4 separate regions of the Homo sapiens genome follow, and all the other regions are linked to region 3. Evidence: promoter capture Hi-C in human tissues and cell types (Jung and others, 2019). All regions are on one chromosome and are shown on one strand. Each heading gives the region's core, a stretch centred on a gene start or on the middle of the fragment in contact. The rest is flanking DNA. Distances are from core to core; before and after follow the strand shown. Region 1 overlaps NKAIN3 (sodium/potassium transporting ATPase interacting 3). Region 2 overlaps NKAIN3 (sodium/potassium transporting ATPase interacting 3). Region 3 holds the start of NKAIN3 (sodium/potassium transporting ATPase interacting 3). Region 4 overlaps NKAIN3 (sodium/potassium transporting ATPase interacting 3).

Region 1 (3,326 bases), core at 97-2,596, 510 kb before region 3:
AAAATATGTGCTAAGTGAAAGAAGCCAAACACGAAAGACCACATTTATATGACATATCCAGTAGAGGCAAGTCTATAGAGACAGAAATTAGATTAGTAGTTTCTTAGAGCTGGGGAGAAGAATGCACAGGTTGTGATAGCTAAGGGGTGGTGCTTTCTTTCCAAGGTGATAAATATGTCTTAAAATTGACCATGGTGATGGTTGCACATATCTGTGAGTAGACTGAAAGCTATTGAATTGTACACTTTAAAATGATGAATTGTATGGTATGTGAATCATATTTCAGTAAGTCTGACAAAAATGTATACACATTTCACCAAGAGAGTATACTGCATAGACACAAATACAAAGAATGAAGTGATTTAAAATCACAGCTCACTAAATGGACAGTTCCAGGCCCCAACAATTTGACTGACCAGGTGTACCCTGGCTTCTGAACACAAATGTTTCTGCCAAAGCCCTTTGAATATTTTTGGCATGGAAATTCTCCCACAACCATAAACCCCTCTCAATATTGTGATGATCCAATAAATGATTCCTTGGGTGAGTGGAACTTTAGATAAACTGTTGCTTTACTTTTCTGAGCATGGAACTGAATATAGAGACCAGAGATGGTGTATAGTGAGTAAGTCAGTCTAAATCTTTAATAGTTCTATCTAGCACTTAGAAGCAGCTCAAAATTTGGTATGAGCAGAAGCCATCTATTTTATATAAAAATAGATTTTCTGGTAAAAGGGTAATCCTGGGAGGCTTTTGGGACAGGAGAGGTTGGTCATGATTTCTTTCCTCTTACTAGACCCTGGAAAGCGCTAGCAAGCAAAAGAGAAAAAAAAAGAGTCCAATATATTTAGCATTTGACAAATGTTGAAATAATCCATTTAAAAAATAAACAACAATGATCAGAAAGGCTGTTGAGAGATGTTTTCAAGAGTGAAAGGAAACATTTTTAACTATTTGCCAATCTTTTAACTATTAGACATAATTGTACTTTTATTTTTACTTTCTAATAGTGGAGCTGCAATTAAATCCCATCAGCCTAACAGGAGATTCATAGCTTTATGGATCTGACAGAGTTTACCCCCGAACCCTGCAAGGTGTTGCAAGGAGAAGTCCTCTTTTCTCACATGACCAGGAATTGTCTGCCAGGGTTTGAGGTCCACCTTCACTCACAAGCTGTGGGATCTTGGGCACATTTTTTAACTTCTCCATGTGTCTCAGTTTTCACACATATAAAATGACTATAATAACACTACCCTCATGGGTCATTTTGAGAATTAAGTGAGTTCATATTTGAAAAGCACAGAGATCAGCTCCAAGAGCATGCTGAGTTTGTTAAATAAATGCAAATGTTAACACAGAAATTTAAAAAAATCTTTTAACTATATTTACATTTTTGGAGAGGTACAATTAAAAGCAATTGGGATATATTTCAAAAGTTCAGTTTCACCTGTCTTTTGACTTACATTCTTGCACTCTGTGAGCATGTTACTGAAGCAACAGTAGTATTGTCTACTCTGACATTGTGCAATTTATTCTATAAGCATATGAACAGATAGCTATACAGCCTTTGGAGAACAAAGATTCTACAGGATACCTTGTGGTCTAATATTACTTTTTACCCTTCTCTATTAAGTTTTAATTTATCATTAAGCTGAATGTGTCCGATATGAAAGGCAGAGAACAGTGACAAATGTTGATGTGAACAGAGAGATACAATGCAAAAGGCATAGGGATGATGAAAAAACAATTCTCATAGGACCCCAGCTCCGACCATGGTGACAACCTCCAAAGGTTTGTTAAAGAATGTGACTTGTCACCTATCAGATATGAGGGAGAATATATTGACAGTGAGGATTCAAGACAATATATGTGTAAAATTAGCTGCAAAGAGAAATCAATAAGGTGAGTTTTAAAACTCTTTTCCAAGTTTGGAGATTAGGATTTTTCTACTAGTTATAAAAATGAGCTCCTTTATATGTGTGCATGTGTGTGTGTGTGTGTGTGTGTGCACTAATCAACATGAGCATATGAATCCATGTTTACCAGTAAATAACTAACACTGAAAATTAAAAAGGGACTTAAATTGGATATTATTGACTTATTAACCCCAGAACTGAGCAGTCCACTAAAATGAAATATTTTATAGTAACTAAGATTTATGAGTGCCTCTAAATGATCAAATAAAAGTTATGAGATTTAGGATTGGTTGATAATTTAAGAAAAGCAACTATAACATCTCTTCTGATTTTCTATACAAATCAAATATACAAATATGATAATTAAATAGTATTATTTAAAATATCATACAATGTGTAAAAACATTTTTTTGGGAAGGCATATCCATAATTCTAAATCTTTTTGTATCTGAACTTTCTTCCTGGATTATGTACTTGAATCATAAAAAACTGTTTCATGTTTTATATATGGTCTTAAAATTAACATAGTTATTACTTTCTATTCATCAAGTTGATGTACTATAAATTGTTATACCATGTCTTTAATTGCATATATTTATACATATCCAGATTTGCTGTTATAAATAACACTGAAATGAACATAATGCAGGTAGCTGTTTCTTTCTGTTGAATTATTTTCTTAGAAGAAAGCCCATTGAGTGGGGTTACAAGACCAAAAGTTATGGGCATTTTAATAGTCTTTGAGACAAAGACTGCTTCTACCAATAAGTGAATTACAATTCTATTTAACATTATCTTTACAAATTGCTAAATTAGTGAAAATAATTTTTTCAAAGTTAACTTGCATACATCAGGTTAGTATCAATAATTATATTTTATACCAAACTGTTTACAATTTGGATGTTTTTCCCTTATGTGAACACATTTGTTCATATTGTTCATTGAATTAATTACTAAATTTTCATGGTTTTAGTACTAATTTAAATGATCTCATTGTGTATTATGAATAATGACCCTTTCTTTGCCACATGTGATACAAATATTAAAATTACTTTTAAATTTCAGTTTTGTAAGCTTTCATGTTTCAGATGTTCGGGTGCTAAATGAGTAAAATACAGCACTGTAGGATGACATTAATTGATAATAGAGATTATTTCAAGCAGAAATACTTTATTCACATTCTCTAGCAGAAAAAGGAAATGCTATACTGTGCGTGCGTGCGTGTGTGTGTGTGTGTGTGTGTGTGCATCCTCTTTAAATCTGTGGTATTAAATTCCCAGAGTAAGAATGTAATTTAAAAATGCCTAAAATACAGTGCTTAGAATTCAACTAGACATAGTTTTTAATTTTCACCAGAAACTGTTTTGAAATCCCCCCACTGGAAGCAAAGCAACTAAGGTAGTCTAAACT
Region 2 (3,321 bases), core at 696-3,195, 290 kb before region 3:
CTTGGAACATTCAGGAAATGCTTGCTGCTGTTCTACTGAACTCCTTCCTTATTCAGTTTCTACAGACAATATCTTAGAGCAAATGTAATTCAATAAATCCACTTGATAAGGTCCTATCTCCTCTTGAAAGGACATATGTTAACATTATTGTTAAACTAATGGCTAACATGCACACCATAGGTATTCCATAACTGTTCTATATGTTTAGGACTTAAAAATATTTGTTTTGCAGGCCTAATAGAGAAAGCAGCTTGTCATCCATCTTCAGCTAGAGATCTGTCATCTTGGAGCTTGCCCGCATTGCTTTTTGAAGTAATTATTATAATAAATTTATTTTAAAATGAATTTTAATCTTAAAAATGCTATAAGCATTCTTTATTCATGTTCCAAATGGCTTCACTTATAATTAATGCTCCAAAAATAGAGTCATTTCTTTGAAATTTTTCATGCATGTCTATACATGTCCTAAGATTCACATATATAGTCACATATATATGTGTGTTTCTGTACTTATGTATATACATATATGACATATGTGGTGTTAGGATATATATTGGTGTTCATCCATGGTTCCTGGCTCATAACTCCCATAGCCCTTGTTACAGTCTTTTGTTACAATGTTGGGTGTATTAGGACTCAGAGGCAGGCCATTGATGTCTGGCCCTCCTTTTACCTGCCCAAAGTAGGACTCTAATCTTCCCTGGACTTTCTGATTGTGGGTCTTAAGACTCTCTCATTAGAGGATCCCACCCTATTCTCTGGAAGTAGGAATGCTGAAGTCATGAGGCTTCCATAAAAACCCAAGAGGACAGAGTTCCAAGAGCTTCCAGGGAGCTGAATACCTGGAGGCTGCTGGAGGGTAGGGCACCCAGGGAGGGTATGGAAGCTCCATGTCCTTTCCCCCATACCTCACCCTATACATCTCCTCATCTTGATCCTTTGCAATATATTTTATAATAAATCAGCAAATGTAAGTAAATGTTTCCCTGAGTTCTGTGAGCCACTCCAGAAAATTGATGAGCCTAAAGAAAGGATCATGGGAATCCCAACTTGAAGCCCGGTGGTCAGAAGTTCTGGAGGCTCAAACTTGGGACTGGTAGCGGGGTGAGTGGAAGGCAGGGCAGTCTTAGGGACTGAGCCCTCAACCTGTGAGATCTGACACTGTCTCCAGGTAGATAAAGTCAGAATTGAATTAGAGGACACCCAGCTGGTGTTCACTGCTTGGTGTGTGGGGAAAAACACCCCACACATATGGTCACAGAAGTCTTCTTCTGTATTGATGATTGCTTTAGTGTGAGAATAGAAAACACAGAGAGAGTTTTCCGAACATAACATGAATATGAGCATAACTGAAACAGCACGTGGACTGTGGCATGTGCTGTCAGTACTTCAATGAGACAAATAGTGTACGAATTCAACTCAGTGCTCATCTGCTAGCTCTACCAATTTTGGATGCAAAGAAGAATCACTTAGTGTTGAACTGAATGGTAGTAATGACTCCATAAAGACACTCCAATTCCAAGTTTATAAATAATGCTCATAAAAAAGCATGCACACAAATCAATTTGAATTCCAATTATACATCTGCAATGGATAGAGTTATTTGTCTAGTTGTGTTTCACAGGAAGCTGCTCATGAACACTTTCTTTGGGACCATTCTGTGGAGCTTTCAGAAAATCAGAAACTATACGAAAAAAAAAAAAACCAATAAATGCAATGTTTTTACATTTTTACCATGAAGAAAGAAGCACTTCCCTGGCAGGCAGGGGCAGCCATATGGAGAAGTAGAGGTCTCTGCTAGACCAGTGGTTCTAGAATTTAGCCCAGAAGCAGCAGCATCAACAAATTCAAATTCTTCTAATTCTGTTAGTACAGATACCCAGGCTTTACTCCAGATTTACAGAAGGAAAGTCTGGGGGTGGGGCCCAGTACTCTGATTTAGCGAGCCATTGAGGCCCTTTGGCTGCATGCTGAAGTATGAAAACCGCTGTGTTATGTTTTCAATAAGAAACAGCTGATGCGTTTTACAGTTCACAGGTGACATTCATCTTATGTTGGTTTTGGGGGTGTGAAAAAAATACATTTAATGATGTTCAAAATGACATCCTTTCTAACTAACAAATGACGTGCTGGTGGGTATGATTTCGTGGTTCGGCAATATCAGCACTGCGAGAGAAGGTTGCACTAGAGTCAGCTCAGCGGGTGACCTGTACTATTTATGAGCATGCCTGTTGTCAGTGTTTCTTCCAGACAGGTGTTTCATTTAACCTAGCTTGGTTGTCATTAACCTTCAAAGGAAGAAACTCAACTTTTCCCACGTGTGGTCGCTGTTTAACTCAGACCCGGGCTTCCTGTGCACGCTCACTGGAACATACGTATGGGAACAAGCCTAGCCGGGGGCAGAGCTCTCATCTCATGCCCGTGGTGCTTAATAAAAAGTGGGAGATCTCAGGCAGGAAGATCATCAGACAATAGAGAGAGACTCAGAAAATTCAGTAGCTGGGAAGAGCTCAGCCTACCCTCCTTGTTTTCACGAAGTTGCCATGGTAATGTTGCGTCTGAAGTCAGCCGGAGACAATCACAGAAAGGGACTTGCAGTGTCCTCCATGGACCCCACATTCTCCCTCATATTCCAGTTCCAGTTTGTGGTATTTCTTTCATGTCTAGCAACTTGCAAGTCTGGATGATATTGCAGAATAAGTATTATCACAATTTTGTTTTCCATAATTTCATGGTAGATGAGTTCTACTAATATTTACTCAGGGTCTGAAAAAACATTTTAAAAATTCAGGCTTAATTCCCATTCCTGTGAATATAACACAAACGACCAATTTATACATGGGACTTTTTCTCTGTATACAGCTAACGACTAAAGATTCAAGGAAAGGGGAGAGCAATTTTACAAATTTAAGAAACTTTCAAAAGATCTACTAAGGAAGAAAGCAGCAGAAAAAAGGGGAAATCTTTCCTGGGCCTTCCAAGTAGAGAGAACTCAGTCTCCCAAATGTAATTCATGTTCTTTAGAGGATGATTCTCCTGGTCCAAGCATCCTGAAGCCCTGTTAGGAGGTGGGGTGAGAAGATGAGCACATAAGGCCCTGCCCAGCCATGGGGCTAAGCCCGCTTCAGGCGAAACTATACATTTAGGAGACTTCCTTTTTGGTGTCACCACACAGAGCCTCAATCTATGTTCTACAGTTTGTTCCACTGCAGCTGGGCCATTCTATAAGATTATCCCCCCAGAAGGTATCGACTGTTAATAGCTCTAGTTATTACTGGTTAAAATTCCATCTTTTTACATGTGTCCCCTCGAGATACTCAT
Region 3 (3,277 bases), core at 278-2,777:
TATCCAATAGGCTTAAAAAGTCACTGATTTCAAACCTACGAATACATAAATTATGCATGCATTATGTGAACAATGAAGGGCACATCCAAAGTGAGGTTTTCATGGGAGACTGGAACACTGAGGCAAGAGAAAAGTGAAAACATTCTAAAGCCTTCATGTAAACAAGGACTAACTACTAAAAAGCACGATTTTATCCCTCAGTTAATAAGTCTTGCAAGGGATGACATTACTAAGTAAAGTTCATTGCAAGCTTTTTCCTCTCACTTGTCAAAATATACTAGTTTATATTTGTGACTCGAAAAAAAATACAATGCTTGGAAGAAAGCTTGGCAGAGCACTCAGAATCTGTCTGAAGTATAACGCAAGGGAGATGTCTATTAATCTCTCACACACAAAAGTCTGACTCAAAAGGTCTGTGGCCTTGACCTCAAGTGACCATGGAATAGACCACAGAGCCAGTCCAGGATCCAAAGGGATTAAGAGGAGCATTTGCTCTGCTCTGAAAGGGCCTTTTTTCCCCACTCTAGTTTCTAACTTCCCATTACACACACTCCCTCTGCAAGGCACCGCGCCAATGGAGCCGGTTCACTCTGTTCTCTCCTTGATGACAGCTGTCAGTCTGTCGCCGCCTGAACATGCAACATTTCAACAAAATCCAAAGCGGAACTGGAAGGGCAGGGGCTGAAGCACACAGCCTGATCTCCTTCCTGGAGGTCCCAGACTCCTTAACCATCACTTTTCAACCTGCTTAAGGTTAGAACCACCTCACTCTTCACTAACAGAGTTGAGGCAGCTTCTGTCTCCTCAGAACCTGGGCATTCCCACACAGTGTAATTAAGCAACATTCCTGGAAATCATCCTAAGAAGAAAGAGCCCGCAAGTCCCCGTGTAACTTCAGCACGAACGCGGAGGGTGCTAAACCAGGTATCGGATCAAGGGGCGGGAAAATCCCTCACTCCGCCGGCTCCTGGCCCCTGGACCGCGTGGCGACGCCCGGCGGGAGCGCGGCGAACCCCAGCGCATGGGACCGGGGGTGAGACCGCGCCCTCCTGCAGGGCAGGGGCGACCTGGCGAGTGCCCGCGGCTGGAGAGCAGTGCGAGCCCAGCCAGGCGGTGGGGAGGGTGGGAGGCGGGCGGAGCGCCCTGTTCACCCGTTCGCCCCTTGCCGGGAGCTGCGGAACCGCAGAGGGAGTCGCAGAGGCCGGTCCTGGAGCAGGGACCTGTCCTGGGGCAGGGGCCCTCGGGGCACTCACCAACTGCAGCGCGCAGAGGCAGATGAGCGAGCAGCGTCCGGTGCAGCAGCCCATGGTGCCGGCGGCGTCCGAGCGGCGCTGACTGCCAGAGATCCTCGTCCTCCGCCGCTGCTGCCTCCTGACTCCGGAGTAGTCCCCGCCCGGCCCGGCCCAGGCTCCTCGGCCCCGCGGCCGCCGCTCGCGGCTCCAGGGCTCGGGGCTCGCGCCCGCCTTTGTTAGTTTCCCGGCGGGGCGGGCCGAGGTCAGTGCGGTGCGCACGACCCGAGCGTCTGGCGGGGGTCCCTGCGTCCCACTGTGCAGGTCTGTTTCTTGGGGAGGGGGAGCCAGGCGGGCGGGGCGGGGGGTTGGAAGGAGGCTACAGATGGCGAGTGGGTGAATGTCTGTTTAGGGGAGGGGAGTATGTAGGAGGTGGGCGTCTGGAAAGTGGAGTGGGCTGTCTGGGTCCGGGTGTGTGTGTGTGTGTGTGTGTGTGGTGGGAAGGGAAGAATGAAAGGGAGTGCCGCTGGGGAGGATCGGCCTGTCTAGTTAAGAGTCTTTGGGGAGAAAGGAAGAGGGACAGAGAGAAAAGAGAATGAATATGAATGAGCGTGAATTAGGGCGGCCGGCGGCGATGGAGACCCTCGTTGACCGGTGTAACTGGGTAGACCCAGCTGGGCTTTCTTGCTGAGGGTTGTGCTGGGGGTTGGGAGGGTGGTCGGACGCGTTTGCAAGGGAGGGGACACGGCTTAGTTGAGCTGCCCCAGAGGTGGCGAGGATGGGAGTTGGGTTAGCTTGGGTTCCGGGGAGGAAGGGCCGGGACGCGAGACACCCAGGGTGGGCGGGCGCCGGGGAGCGCAAGGCCCAGCTCCGGAACCTGCCCGGATGCGAGGGGGCCCGCGGGCGCTGCGCGGGCAAGTCTGTTGAGCCGGCGCTGGGCACGCAGCTCGGGGGTCTCCCATCCGAGCTTGCTTCTGCCCGCCACAGCCGGTTGCCTGGAGGGCGCCCCTGCTGGAGTCTGAAAGGGAAAGTTGGACAGAGTTGGGTGGCAAGGGGCGCTGCGGCGGAGCGATGCACCCGCCCAGGGCGCCGGGACTAGCCAGGACGCCGCGGGGAGACCTGGCTTAAGGTTCTTTTCTCACATACCCTTTGAAATCCTCACCGGGAGGGAGAAAAGAGAAGTCGAGGAAGAAGAAGATGCGTAGCTTTTTCTAGAAATGGAGAAGGTTTCCGGAATAGGTATAAATATATCTTCACAGAAATAAATTGAGAAGGATTTGGAAAGAAGATCTCGGATAGTTAAGATACGGACAAACTCTCTCTGAATCCTGTGGAAACTCTCCTGCTCTCTCCCACCTAATAAAACAGAGCGGAGGCGTTCTGCAGAGGATGAAATTTCATCAGGGCTCAAAGACAGATTTTATGGGCGCATTTGTTGTACCTGGTGGAACTGCGCAAGGAGCTCAAAAGCACACCAGAACAGGGAACAAGCCTGCAGGCCAATTATCTCAGAAAAGGCTGTTTTCAGAATTTGGCACAGAAACCCTGTTTCTAGCCCACTGCTGCCCTCCTGGGTTCTTGGCGGTAGGTTGGTAAGAAAAGGCAAGACATCTTTGCGTTTTTAATACTTCCACTCCAGACATGGAAACTGCTCAAGCCGTTAGTTCAGGCGTTAAAAGCAGTCCTGTTTTTATTTTTATCCTTTCTGAAACGTTTCTTCAGGATCTATGTTTATAATTTAAGACGGTTATCATTCCCAAGGAAGTCTGCACATCTTTGAAATTCTAGTAGGGACACATGAATAACCTCAGGATTTGGGTTATTAAAAGGGTCAAGAACATTCATTGTTTACATTCCACCTCTGATATTATCATGGAGACAGGAGAAGTCCAGTCAGAACTCCTCCTCCTTTTTTAATTCAAGCGTTAAGACATCAGTGATCAAGGATCATGTGAGCACGCTGCCTTTATGCACAATCCACGTACTCGTCATCATTCTTTATGGATGAAAACAATAGAAAAAAATGAACACTGACAAATAAGTAGTTT
Region 4 (3,349 bases), core at 354-2,853, 390 kb before region 3:
GAGAAAAATGGTAATATATAAAAAGGAGGGAGGAATCTGCCTACATAAAGCTCATCATTATTTCATTTGTACTTAACACGACTTTGGACAAAGTAAACTACCTACTTTGTCTGCAGGAAAAGGAGCCAAGGGAAAAGCTCCTAAAGAAAAGAGATTAACATTTTTTAAAATAAATTATTAAGGTGTGAATTAAGTGGGTATATTTGCCTTACCAGATAGAGCAAAAAGGTGTATATTCAGTTATTTGCTTTGTTTGCTTTGTGCATTATATTGTTTAGCATTGTACCAAGAGACCAAGAAAGGGGGAATAAATTATAAAAATGAGGCTGTCCTTTGAGAACCTGGCAGTCAGAGGTCAGCACCAACATTATCCAATGTCAAAATCAGAAGCCTAAAAGACAATATTAAATACAAACTACTCTATAGGTGTGAGAATGTGTTATGATAATAAATATAGAAAATGATATTATGTCTTTGTAATGGACTGTGCCCATTAGTATCCTATGGGTATACGTTTTGTTGAGAAATACAAAATTCTGACTGAGGTTTCGATGACAGTTCTGCTATGTCATGCTACATGGTGACATGTAGGAACCTCAAGCTTACCAGTGACAAACTGGTTTCTATTTCAATAATGGGTTTCAAGTGGTAAGCTCAGAACAGATGGGTGTAGGAGCATTGTTTTTGTCATCGTTATTTTCTCAACTTCTAAACTTTAAATAAAAAACATGTATTATCTTTATTTTTTTAAAAAGCATTTTTCCCAGGAGTGCAGTGCGGTTGCATGGTCTGATTTGTTTCATCCATATATCTCTTGGCAGGTTGCATCCCAGCATTCTCAGAACATGTTACCTTGTGACCCACCACTCTGGGCAGTCAATAAGGGCCTCTTTTATGGCTACTATTCATTTCTAAATGAGATTAAAAATACAGGTAAAATTTCTGAAATTAATCTTAGCCAAATGCATCATAGTCTTAGAGAAAAGACTTTCAATAAACATATAAGATTTGTAGCACAGAAAAAAAGCTATATCTAACTTTTTCATTTATTCGTTCTCACACACATTCTCTTGAAAATAATTATGTGATTTCCATATTCAAGAATAGGTTACTCAGATAACTAACCCCTTCCTAATCTTGCCTCTCACTTTATCAATCAATGAGCTATTTAACTTGCTAAGTAGCATCTGAATGCCCAGGAAACATTTCTCTGTGTCCAGGAATTTTGAGTCTGTCTAGAGTCAGGCTCTTAAAGAATACAGATGTTTTTCTGACTGCTGGTTGTCCTCCCAACCACTTATCAAAAACCTACAAAAAGCAAATGTGCTACAAAGAATTTATGGATTACTGAGAGCATTTCTGTTATTGTGATAAGGTATTTCATAGCTAACTTTTTAGCTGCAATTACATGGAAGAGTCAGCCTACATTAAACAGAGTTCAGCTTTCCTGACAGCTATCAAAAAATCCTTCTGTTCCTTAGGTCCAGCAAGACACACAGCAATAGAGTGTGTCTTTATTTATGAACAAAAATCAAAGCAATTATTAAAATTTTCATTTATTTTTCAAAGCTTTCTGTTAGCACAATTACATAACTGTATTTGGGAGCTTCTTTTATCATCTAGAAGAGTGCTTATCAAATTTTGGTGGTGTAAGGATCATCTGAGCATCTTGTTAAAGTGTAGATTCTGATTCAGTGGGTCTGGAGTGAATCCATGAACCCAAGAACCAAGATGCATTTCTAATAAGCTCTAAGATAGTACTTGTGCTGCTGGTGTTAGGACCAACTTTGAGAAGCAAGGGACTAAAAAAAAAAAATAAATAAATGAGGCTTTTCTATTTCTCAGGCACAGTGTCTGACTTTTACTACCATAATGCTGAGGGTTAGACATTACTGGGGTTAAAGAATGTGGACACAAAAACATGACTGAATAGAACTGGCCCTAGTTTTCAGCTTCGATTTAAGAAACTAGAAACAGCCACCTCACACCAGTGCTTCTTCAGGTCCTAGACCAGATTCGATGAGTAGAGGACATATTTGAGTAGATGGAGAATTTAGACCCACCTCTGGGGTGCTCAGAGGAATCCCACGGATACCTTTAGTGATATGAGGGCTAAGCCAGACGTGTTTGCCAGGCTGGGTGCGCGCAGAGGAAAAAGAGCAATGATTTCTATGAATACCTCTTTTAATATGGGTCAGGGCAGAGGAAAGAAGGGCTAGAAACATCTCCTCAGGCATTTAATTCACAATGGTAAATTCAGTCTTCAATCTGAAAGTTCACAAATCTTTATGAGATACTGTATTAGTTCATTCTCACACTGTTATAGAGATACTACCCAAAACTAGGCAATTTATAAGAAAAGAGGTTTAATTGACTCAGAGTTCCTCATGCCTGGGGAGGCCTCAGGAAACTTACAATCATGGCAGAAGGGGAAGACACACGTCTTACATGGCGGCAGGTGAGAGAGAGGGCAAAGCAAAGGGGGAAGAGCCCCTTATAAAACCATCAGATCTCATGAGAACTCACTATCATGAGAAGAGCATGGGGGAAACCGCCCCCGTGATCCTATCACCTCCCACTAGGTCTCTTCCTTGACATGTGGGGATTACAATTCAAGATGAGATTTGGGTGGGGATACAAAGCCAAACCATATCAGGCACCTACTTGCCAGGTCACGGAAGTATGCCCTGGAGAAGATACCAATTAGTACAACCTTGGGATTCCACCTTTGAGAAACTTGTAAATGATTGGGAAAAATATGATTTTCACATACAAAATGGTTAGTAATAATGTGATGCAGTGCTAAACGTCAAATTAGAGATAAGGGCTAAATTTATGACTACAAAGTTTGAATGGACATTTGGTAAAGCTTAGAAGTCCTACTATAATTTCCTGGTACATTTGTGTTCCCATTCTCCAAGATGATTATTGACTTATATTTCTCTCCTCAGTGTCCAAAAGCTCTTTTCCTCATCAGTTATGGCCCCCCTCATTCCTTATTAATAAAAAGGGAAGTAATCAGAAAAAAACCACTTCACTTCTCATCACTAAACTAACTCAAATTTATACTCTCTGCACCCACATCCTCCCCCTTTTCTCTTTTTGCTTGTTCCTGCTGATGACCAACTTGTCTATTTTTATCACTTCTAATCCACTCAAAAATCTTGATTTTATGATTTCCCCTCTCTTTTGCAAGGTCAATTTCTTTTTCTCAACAACAACCTCGACTTGCAATTATGCTTTAATATTGTCTGTACATAATACAAATAAGAAACCAAAAACTCCGTGTAAACTATGTCTTCTGGGCACTGCCTCACTTTTCAGCTCTTTTCTGTACAACTCTTCCAAG

The links. Contacts are between HindIII fragments. The study calls those that stand out against the background at their distance.
Region 1: a contact is called between a fragment that was not itself captured here and the fragment with the promoter of NKAIN3 in region 3, in 1 of the 25 tissues and cell types used here (spleen).
Region 2: a contact is called between a fragment that was not itself captured here and the fragment with the promoter of NKAIN3 in region 3, in 2 of the 25 tissues and cell types used here (dorsolateral prefrontal cortex and stomach).
Region 4: a contact is called between a fragment that was not itself captured here and the fragment with the promoter of NKAIN3 in region 3, in 1 of the 25 tissues and cell types used here (dorsolateral prefrontal cortex).

Annotation. Positions count from the first base shown.
Region 1 is chr8:62,753,045-62,756,370 of GRCh38, reverse strand. The region is part of intron 4 of NKAIN3 (sodium/potassium transporting ATPase interacting 3); the gene reads right to left. Among named protein-coding and RNA genes, the nearest start is that of GGH, 280 kb to the left of the region's middle. The HindIII fragment of the contact is 4,709 bases long and covers 1-3,326 here.
Region 2 is chr8:62,533,245-62,536,565 of GRCh38, reverse strand. All of the region lies in intron 1 of NKAIN3 (sodium/potassium transporting ATPase interacting 3), which reads right to left. Among named protein-coding and RNA genes, the nearest start is that of NKAIN3, 290 kb to the right of the region's middle. The HindIII fragment of the contact is 5,741 bases long and covers 1-3,321 here.
Region 3 is chr8:62,247,104-62,250,380 of GRCh38, reverse strand. It overlaps NKAIN3 (sodium/potassium transporting ATPase interacting 3), which reads right to left and starts at 1,527. Exons shown (of 7, transcript NM_001304533.3): 1 at 1,254-1,527. The coding sequence starts at 1,307. It overlaps LOC124901952 (a long non-coding RNA gene), which reads left to right. Exons shown (of 2, transcript XR_007060932.1): 1 at 1-924. The HindIII fragment of the contact is 6,824 bases long and covers 1-3,277 here.
Region 4 is chr8:62,639,479-62,642,827 of GRCh38, reverse strand. All of the region lies in intron 3 of NKAIN3 (sodium/potassium transporting ATPase interacting 3), which reads right to left. Among named protein-coding and RNA genes, the nearest start is that of NKAIN3, 390 kb to the right of the region's middle. The HindIII fragment of the contact is 3,272 bases long and covers 1-3,239 here.